3 separate regions of the Homo sapiens genome follow, and regions 2 and 3 are each linked to region 1. Evidence: promoter capture Hi-C in human tissues and cell types (Jung and others, 2019). All regions are on one chromosome and are shown on one strand. Each heading gives the region's core, a stretch centred on a gene start or on the middle of the fragment in contact. The rest is flanking DNA. Distances are from core to core; before and after follow the strand shown. Region 1 holds the start of DZIP1 (DAZ interacting zinc finger protein 1). Region 2 overlaps UGGT2 (UDP-glucose glycoprotein glucosyltransferase 2). Region 3 overlaps UGGT2 (UDP-glucose glycoprotein glucosyltransferase 2).

Evidence for each region. Contacts are between HindIII fragments. The study calls those that stand out against the background at their distance.
Region 2: a contact is called between a fragment that was not itself captured here and the fragment with the promoter of DZIP1 in region 1, in 1 of the 25 tissues and cell types used here (dorsolateral prefrontal cortex).
Region 3: a contact is called between a fragment that was not itself captured here and the fragment with the promoter of DZIP1 in region 1, in 1 of the 25 tissues and cell types used here (lymphoblastoid cells).

The regions. Positions count from the first base shown.
Region 1 is chr13:95,643,456-95,646,673 of GRCh38, reverse strand. It overlaps DZIP1 (DAZ interacting zinc finger protein 1), which reads left to right and starts at 1,968. Exons shown (of 23, transcript NM_198968.4): 1 at 1,968-2,297; 2 at 2,976-3,073. RefSeq lists an enhancer at 1,756-1,805 and silencers at 1,896-2,005, 2,096-2,185, 2,246-2,355. The HindIII fragment of the contact is 16,516 bases long and covers 1-3,218 here.
Region 2 is chr13:96,038,550-96,041,767 of GRCh38, reverse strand. The region is part of intron 1 of UGGT2 (UDP-glucose glycoprotein glucosyltransferase 2); the gene reads left to right. Among named protein-coding and RNA genes, the nearest start is that of UGGT2, 13 kb to the left of the region's middle. RefSeq lists an enhancer at 1-230. The HindIII fragment of the contact is 6,154 bases long and covers 1-3,218 here.
Region 3 is chr13:95,985,731-95,988,948 of GRCh38, reverse strand. UGGT2 (UDP-glucose glycoprotein glucosyltransferase 2) reads left to right here. Exons shown (of 39, transcript NM_020121.4): 9 at 2,517-2,616. Among named protein-coding and RNA genes, the nearest start is that of UGGT2, 66 kb to the left of the region's middle. The HindIII fragment of the contact is 4,549 bases long and covers 1-3,218 here.

The sequences.
Region 1 (3,218 bases), core at 719-3,218:
GAAATGGGAATATGAGGCAAAATAATTAATATGTATTGAATCAGACAACACATGTGATTTCTGCCCTTCTTTATTTATCGCCTTCATACTAAAGGACATTAGCCAGGTAATATCAATAACTATTTTCAAATGAGAGAAACAGAAACAATCATTTGAAATAAATTCAGCTACAATGCTTTTGTTTATTTACTGTACAAAATGATTAATGTTCACCAGTATTATTATTTCATTCTTTAGGATCATTTCTGTCTTCAAAAAGCAAATATTTATTTGAGGACTTACTAAATGCTCAAAATGCTGGAATACTTGAGGTTCTTATAGTCTGACCGACGAGAGAGATACCTTAATCATTAAAAATATGTATACCATTATACAATTGGTAAAAGTGGTTTGTGCATAGATCAAGAATGCATCATGGCTGCTAAGTCATGCCAAAGTCAATTGATTCTTCTTATTCCAATTCTACACCTGTAGGGTAATATACTGACAGTGGGGATGGGAAATACATGTAACTCAAATGGTATGTCAACAAATAATATTAATTAAGCAATCATCTCTCTCTCTCTCTCACACACACACACAGACAGCTACCGAGTTTGCAAAAACCGGATTTTGCAGAGCAATGGTCCTATCTATCTCATATTGTCTGAAATTCCTTTCTTTTTTTTTCTTTCTTTCTTTTTCTTTTCTTTTCTTTTTTCTTTTTTTTTTTTTTGAAACGGAGCCTCGCTCTCTCGCCCAGGCTGGAGTGCAGTGGCGCGATCTCGGCTCACTGCAAGCTCCGCCTCCCAGGTTCACGCCATTCTCCTGCCTCAGCCTCCCGAGTAGCTGGGACTACAGGTGCCCACCACCATGCCCGGCTAATTTTTTGTATTTTTAATAGAGACGGCGTTTCACCGTGTTAGCCATGATGGTCTCGATTTCCTGACCTCGTGATACACCCGCCTCGGACTCCCAAAGTGCTGGGATTACAGGCGTCAGCCACTGCGCTCGGCCTATTGTCTGAAATTTCTATCTAGAAATCTTTCCCCATAGTACTTAGAGGATTTTTATAGAGATCTTGAATTTTCTTTCAAAATAATTTTAAAATTAGACCAATTTAAAATCCCATCATGGTCATCTTGGCCTTATGGCTTCAAATAAAACTAAAGCAAGGAATTCAACATAAATACATATTTAGCTGTTGCTATGTTTGAAGCCTTGTGCTAAAGTATGGTACAAAGTTGATTCTGTCAGGGAGAAGCACAAGGAAAGGCACTTTTACAACGGCATGTTGGTCCAGTAAAAGTTCTGCAGCTACTCCTCTCTAATTTAAAAACATATATATATATATTATATATATATATATATATAGCTGCATTAGACACTTAGGTTTTGCAAAAGATGCCTTCATTTCTCATGATGGTATATACATACGTTCTGGATTACTTGTTACTTAAAAATACTGACTTTTGTCCCACGTGTTCCAATTTTAGGTTACATAAATGAGCACACTACTCCGGACCCACATCTCCTGTAATTCAGTGCCTAACTTTCTACCAACAAAGATCCGTGCCTTTCATCCTGAAGTGGGCATAACGGAAAGAGACGCAGAAACCTACGTGGGTTTAAATCCTAGAGGGCTTTGGTGAAAAGTCCCTAATCTCGGTTTTCCACGTCACTCAAATGCAGGGCCACATTAGATAGCCTTTTCAAGGTCCTTCGCATCTGCAGACTTCTGCGATTAAAACGCATCTCTTTTTGGAAGATAATTCACCTGAAGCTCCTCTGGGAAATTAGCTTGCTGAGGGCCAGACCAACAACCGGGTAGGAGCGAATCTGGTTTCTCTTTGAAAAGCCTTCCTAGGGTTAGCATCCAGGGCCAGCAACGGAGCGCGCCCCCGAACCACGTGTCTGCGCCAGCTGCCGGATTGGCTGAGCGCATTTTAGCGCTGCGGTCTAGACGCTCGCGGTCCCGCCCAGTTGCCAGAGGAGCCGGGACACCGAGGGAAGAGGCCGGAGGGAGATCGCGGAGGGGAGGGGGCGGGAGGGGGGTGGGGTATCCTGAGTCGTCCGTGGTCCGGAGTCTGGAAGGCCCTAGAGCGGCGCCAGTCGACCCGCCTCGCCACAACTTGCCCAGACCAGACACGTTTCATCCTGCGCCCTGCAAGAAGGAGCCGGCCTGCCTCTCTCCGCTTTGCTGCTCCTCGGCCTCCGCGGGCCCGGCCCGCGTCAGCAGCGACCCTGGGGTCTGGGTCCCCTGTGTCGCCCCCGCCCGCCTGCAGCGCCCGGCACCCGCCCAGGAGCGCGCAGCTGGGGTGAGCCGAGACCGGGGATGCGCCAGGCGCCCACAGGAGGTGGCTGACGGGGCATCCCGATACCCGCGAAGCCGGCCCTCCTGCCTCTCCAGGCTGCGAGCCGAGCCTCTGCAGATCCAGCTGGAGTAGCCGCCGCTGCCCCCACTGCCTGTTTGCCTTCCAAGGAAGGGCGCCGAGGTTCCCCTGGAACCCGCGTCTCTCGGCTTTTGTCTGCTGGTTCGGCTGCCCGGCGGTGCCATGCGCCTGGGACTTGAGGCGCCGCGCAAGGCTGGGGGCCCTGCCCGGGATGGGGGAGGGAGGGAACGGGAAAGCATGCCCCCTTCTTTCCTGTTCCGGCCATCTTGTGACCGAGATCCACGCAAGGGGAAAGGGGTGGTCAGCGGCACGACGCCCCACGATGGAGTGTGGCGGCCAACGGAGATGGGTACCTCGGGCCCGCAGGCCTCTGCGCCCAGATCTCAGCGGGGGCGCGCGGGCCACCCCCACGTTCAGCTCTGAAGCCCTTGGCCCAGATCATGGGTTAATCGTTCTAACAGGCCAGAGGCAGCAAAAATAGGAGGGATAAAGGGCCAGGAGCTGATGTTTCCTTAACTAAGCGCCTAAGTCATTCGATCGTTCTTCATTCACGTGTCCATTCAGCAAATTCTGAACGCCTTCTCCGTGCCTGTCCTCTGCTAGGTTCTAGGGACGTATACTTGAGCAAGAGAGACCACAGCTCTTGTTCCCGCTGATCCTGCAGCCCAGTGGATGGAGTCCAGAATCTACAGACCTGCCAGGTCGGTGTCTTGATGCTCTTAAACAGATGGAGGAAGCTAAGTCTTAGAGCTGACAATTTGTTCTAGATCAGGGAGCAAGTAAGTGACAGAATCAAACTTTGAAACTATTTATGTCTTTAGCACTTTTTATGCCTGGTTGCAGGGA
Region 2 (3,218 bases), core at 390-2,889, 400 kb before region 1:
TCAGGGAAGTGGGGGAAAGCCTACAGTCACAGGCCTCACCCAGCTCCCATGCAACCCAAAAGGCCAGTCTCACTCCCTCTGTGCCCCACCCAACAGCACTGAGTCTGTTTCCAGGCGGTGGGCGAGCAGGGCTGAGAACTTAGGTGGTGGGCGAGCAGGGCTGAGAACTTGCCCCAGGCTACCAGCCTCCCAGCTGCAAATGCAAATAGGGCTCTCATGCTTCCCCACCTGTGGAGTTTGCACACCAGATTCATGCCCTCTCCCAAGTTCTGGCCAGGAGATTTCTTGTTCCTTTGAAATTGTTACAAGGTTCAGCTGGAGGTTTCCTTCTCCCTGTGGCCTCTTCCCAGTACCTCTGGCAGCCCTACCCGAGGACCCCTGTGAGGCAAGGCAGAAATAGCTTCCTAGGGGACCCAGAGAGCCCACAGGGCTTTTCCTGCTGCTTCCTCTACCCTTGTATTTTGCTTGGCTCTCTAAATTGACTCAGCCCCAGGTAAGGTCAGAATCTTCTCCAGTGATATACACCTTCGGGTTCCCCAGTGAGAGTGTGTTTTCAGGGGCAGACAATCCCCCTTTCCCACTCTCACAGTTTGGGTACTCAGAGTATTTGGGGTATCTCCCAGGTCCTACAGGAGCAATTCATTTCCTTCAGAGGGTCTGTGGGTTCTCTTGGCTTTTCTAATTTATTCCTGCAGCAGTTCTGGAGCAAAGGTTCAGAATTCAAGACTCCACATGCTGCTCTGTCCATTTGAGTGGGAGGCTAAAACGGTTTTTATTTAATACCTGATTCTAGCTTAATTTTGATCCCCTTCCTTTATCCTTTCCCCAGTATTTAACTGTTTGCCTAGATCTGATCTCACACTTAGCTCCAAATCAGTCTAACTTTTTCCAGCCTTAGACTGCTTGTTACAGTATCTGGCTTTACATTTGCCTTGAGAGTCTTAGAGTTGGAACTGCTGTGTTATGCTCCTTAAGGTCCTTGACAGTCTAGCCGCAGTCTGATTTACAAACCCCATCACTTGTACAAATTGTCCCCAACTTATCATGGTTCAATTTAGGATTTTTTGACTTTACTATGGGTTTGCCAGGGTATTAAATGCATTTTTTACTTATAGTATTTGCAACTTAATACTTAATAAACCCAACTTAATGGGTTTATTGGGAGGTAACCCTAAGTCAAGGGGCATCTGTAGTAGGTTGAATGCTGGCCTCAAAAAGATATGTCCACATCCTAACTCCCAGAACCTGTGAATGTTACCTTATTTGGAAAAATGTCTGTGTTAATGTAAGTAAGGATCTTGAGATGAGATCATCTTGGATTATCTAGATGGGCCCCAAATCCAATGTCATTTTAAGAGACAGAAGCAGAGAAGACACAGGCAAAAAGGAGAAGGCCATGTGAAGTTAGAGATTGGAGTTAGGCAGCCTCAAGCCAAGGAACAGCTGAAGCCACCAGGATGGAACAGTCTCCCTTAGAGCCTTCAGAGGGAGCACAGCCCTGCCAACACCTTGATTTTGGACTTCTGGCCTCCAGAATTGTGAGAGAATAAGTTTCTGTTTTAAGTCACCAAATTTTTCATAATTTGTTAAACAGATCTAGGAAACTAATACAGATTTTGGACCAAAAAGTTGGGTGCTGCTGTAACAAATAGTTCAAAATGTAGAAGTAGCTGTGGAGTTGGACAGAGGCTAGAATAATTTTGAGAAGTTTGGTATTAAAAGCCTAGACTGCCTTGAGGAGACTTCAGAAATCTGGACATTAAGGGTGATTCTGCTGAGGGCTTAGAAGAGATTAAAGGGCATAGTTGAAAAAACTTCTGTCATCATAGAGAATACTTATATCATCCTGAAGAGAATTTCAGTAGAAATATGAACATTGAAGTCTGTTCTGGCCATGGCTTGGAAGGAAATGAGAGACATTATATTGGAATCTAGAAGAAAGGTAACCCTTGTTATGTAGTGATACAATACCGGCTGACTTGGTTTCTACAGTTTGTGGAAAACATCTTGAAACTGGTGAACTTGGATATGAGCTGAAAAGATTTCCAAGCAAAGTGTTAAAAGTGCTGCTTGGTTTCTCCTCGCTGCCTATATTAAAATGAGAGAAGAAAGAGATAAATTTAAAAAGGAACAGGTAAGGAAAAAGGAACCAACACTTGATGATTTTGGAGGTTCTCAGCCTATCCAGATTGTAAAGAGTGTTACAACTAGGAAACTCAGTGTTGGGAATGTGTGCTCTGGAGAGAAAGACAGAAACCTGGCAGGACAACCTTTTGCTGAACAGGTTAAGCATGTGATTCATGGGTCCCCTCAACCATCTCCCCAGAAGCTTGGTATAAAGAAGGTGGGGATATCCAGGAAGGATCTGGGGAGGATCCGTGTAATGATGTGGCTCTTGGTGAAATATACAATAGTCTTACAAAGTTTTGGGGAATGTATTAGAAACACTGTCAGCTTGGACCGAAAGAGACAAGACAAAATGAAAGAAGGCTGTTGGACTTCCAAAATTCTATAGGCAGGAAATGGACTATAGAGCTACTTGGCTGTAAACATTGTGCTGCCCTTTCAAGAAAGAAAGAATAACTCTGCAAGCAGAACCATGGCAGGCAGCACAGAGGGTGAAGCATCAGGCCACAGAGAGTTATTCTCAGGCTTTGAAACATAATGGAAATTTGCCCTGCTGGATTTTGAACTTGCCTGTGACCAGTGACCCCTTTATTCCTTCTATTTTTTTCCTTTGGGAATTAGAGTGTCCATCCTATGCCTGTCTCTCCATTGCATTTTGGAAACATAACTTGTTTTCTAGTTTCACAGGTGGACAGGGGAGAATTTTACCCCAGGATGGATCATACCCAGAGTCTCACCCATACATGATTTAGATGATAAAATTTGTAAATGAAGTTGACGATATTTACATGAGATTTTGGACTTAGAATTGATGCTGTAATTGGTTGAGTTTTTGGAGGTTGTTGGCAAAGGGAAATATATTTTATGTAGGGGAGGTGGATTTTGGGGGCTTTGGGGGCTAGAGGGTGGCTTGAATGATGCACCCAACAAAAAAAGGGCAGCTTTTAGAATCTTTTGCATTAACTCTGCTCAAACCTTGACTTCAGACTTTTGGCCTCCAGAACTATGAGAGAATAAATTTCTCTTGCTGAATAGGTTAGACCTGTGATTCATGAATCCACTCAACCATCTCAGCAGAAGCCCAGTACAAA
Region 3 (3,218 bases), core at 372-2,871, 340 kb before region 1:
ACATACAAATAATATTTTATATTTCATCTGGATTATAGTTTACAGAGTCCTTTCATATAAACTATCTTATTTAAGTGCCAGTTACCACACAGCTAATAAGTGAAGATTTTGGTCCAAGTAAAATTCTTTATACTGTACCATATGGTATCTAGGTAAACTTTATATACACTTAACAGAATATTGAATGTTACATTTTAAAATTATAGCAGAATGTGCAAGACACAATCTATTAAGTTTTATAACTTCTGCTATTCTTTACCTACCTAATACAAATGTTGTATCAACTAAGCCCTGTATCATTAGAAAATCAATATATCAATAGAAAAATCATTCAGCAGAATGAGATTCAAGGCCATTGTTATGATAGATTTACTGTAAAGAATCTACCTCTTTGAACTGATAGAATCTATTCTCCCTGGACCCTTCTGGTGTACAGTTTCCTATTTAATGTCTCATCTAGACCTCATGCTTAGACCTCCTTTTATTATACCACAGCCCTTGTGACTGTTCTTTCACTTGACATCATGATAACACTAAACTGAGGTAGTAGTTTCAAATTCATTCTCAATAAGGTTACTGAGATAATCTTTCTAAAATGAAAATCTGATTTTGGCCTTGTGTCAAATCAGCCAGGCTTTATCACTTGTACATCCCTGATCAAATAGTGGCCTTACATTAGTCCCCACAGGAAAATGTTGGCACACACAAACTAAAAAGTTTAATAAAGGGACTTTTTACAGAGACAGGCATGATTGAGGGAAACCAACAAGGAATGGATTATTCGATTCCAGTATTTGCAACTAGATGGAAACATTTTCTACCCCTAATCTTGAGGGAGCAAGAGGAGAGAGTGGTTACCAAAACCTGGAGAGTGTGTCGAGAGAGCTGCTTGACACAGCAGTAGTACCCCGAGGGACTGTCCTCTGTGTATCAAGGAAGGGATCTGGGTAGTAACTATTCCACTCCTTACTCTTTTCTTGCTTACTGATCCCATATTAGTTACTTGGATTGGCTGAATCTAACTAGAAATCTGAGGGCAAGGGAGCTTATTGATGCAGTTCAGATAGGCCAGCCTTTTGGGGGCCCGGAGCAGGAAAGAGTGGATGCGGGGGGCAAACAAAGTATGCAGTCCTCTTCTCTGAGAAAGTTCTGTTTTTCCAAGGTAAATACTTCTGGAGAGACTTCGAATGTAAGAAGGGGTTGATAGGACTAGCTAGCCAAGTCATTTGCATCATTAAGGACTGATTTCATGCACATCCATTAAAAGTATTAAGTTTAAACCCCTTAGCATGGTTTGTGAAGCTCTTGTCTAAGTTCTAATAGAGCTTATATTCCTAAATCCATAATTTCAGATAGTCTCTTTCTAGTATCTTCAATTATTTTTAGATCCTTTTTTATGTCTCTATTTTAGCACTTTTTAAAAAGTATAATTATGTTTTAAGCCTCCTTCAAAATGTTCTCTAAGGGGCCTTTGCATAATTTAGAAAAGTATAAGTGATGGGGTGTTTTTGAAGGCCTTTAAGCAAAGAGTATGCATAGTCAGCTTAGTTCTAGTTGACTCCCTAATGTCTGTGTAAGATGTATTTCAATGGACTAAAAGCAAGAAATCTAGGTAGACATTACTGAAATAGTGATAGAAGGCATATAAATATTTAGAAGGTGAAAAGGAGTCAAAGATAATTCTAGGATTTCTAGCTTGAGCCTGAGTAGAGAGAATATATAAAACATGTAAGCAGACTTTGGGGCTGAATATGGGACTCAGAAATAATGAGACTAGTGTTGAAAGGTTGATTTAAAGTCATTGTAAGATATCCAGATGGTTAGGTTCAGTGGTGGGGTGAGTATCCTGTCCTTAAGCTAAAGGAGAAACAATCTGCCTCACTGTTGAGGTAGGTAATGAAAGAATTTAGTTTTAAATCTTTTCTGACTCTTGACAAAGTAATAATACTAAGATGAATTCTTCTGACATGTTTGAAACTAACCACAGTTAGCAACACACATTTTTCTTTTTATAGGATTGTCATATCAGATAAAATAATACTAAGTTTAGGATTTTATTTCAGCACAAAGGTAAAACAATGTTGAAAGAGAAATTGAATGTTTCTATTTACTGAGTTAAACACAGTGGAGCTTTCTTAGAGGTCTTTTCAGAATTGGCTCTTTAAAGCTCTTTTTACTCCTCTTCATTATTCTTTTGACTTTTTGTCATATGTTTCATTTAAGTATAGAAAAAGCTTTGCGAGAGCATTTCTTTTCATATATCTCTCTCGAAATTATACTGTAATTTGTGGAAACAAGAGGTATTAAATAGTCATTCATAAAAGTATAAAGCTTATATTTGGAAATAAGTGATAACTTTACATTTAAAACTTTTTAAAAATGCAGATGTAACAGTATTAACATGTTTGTATACTAATACTTGGCAAGAAGAATTGAGTCAAGTATTTCAATTTCATGGAAATGTCTATAAAGGTCTAATATTATGCTAGATTCCTTAATAATATTTTTCCTTCCAGATCTTAGTTTTCAAGCAGCTTCTCAAATAATGTCCGCTCCAGTTTATGATTCCATTAAATTAATGAAAGACATTTCACAGAACTTCCCCATAAAAGCCAGGTATGTTAAAGTTTATAGGTTTCATTGCAGCTATAACTCTTTCTATTAAATGAGTTTTATGAAAATAGCTGATTTCATTTAACATGAAGGTGTCAATTAGTTCTAGTATATATAGCTTTTGTGAAATCAGGGCCTTTTCAATATATATATATTTTTTGATTAGAGCAAAATATTGGCTTGTGCATACATGTGTGTATGCACTGTAAGGTAGAACTCTTGTTAGAGGCAAATAGGAAAAAAAGTCCTAAAAAATTTTCTAAAATCATGCATAGTAATCTAAGGAAAAACTTGTTTAAGCAATAAATAATGAAGGAGTGTTTTTTCTTTCCCTTATGGAGGATGATAAAAAGTATTACTCTAAGTAGGAGGTCTATGCCCAAAGTACTGCCAAATCATATTCTTACCCTTTCAGAGTCCAAATGATTGGTAATGTCTTAATTGGATGAATATTGTGTGGAGTACTTTTTTGCCAAGAGGATGTCTCGTTGAACTGCTTCCATGAATACTGATGTTACATTAAACATATATTCCATTTCAATAGGAAATACATTTGCATAGCTTAAAGAGACCGGTGCATGCAATGCAAGTTACCACGTATTATG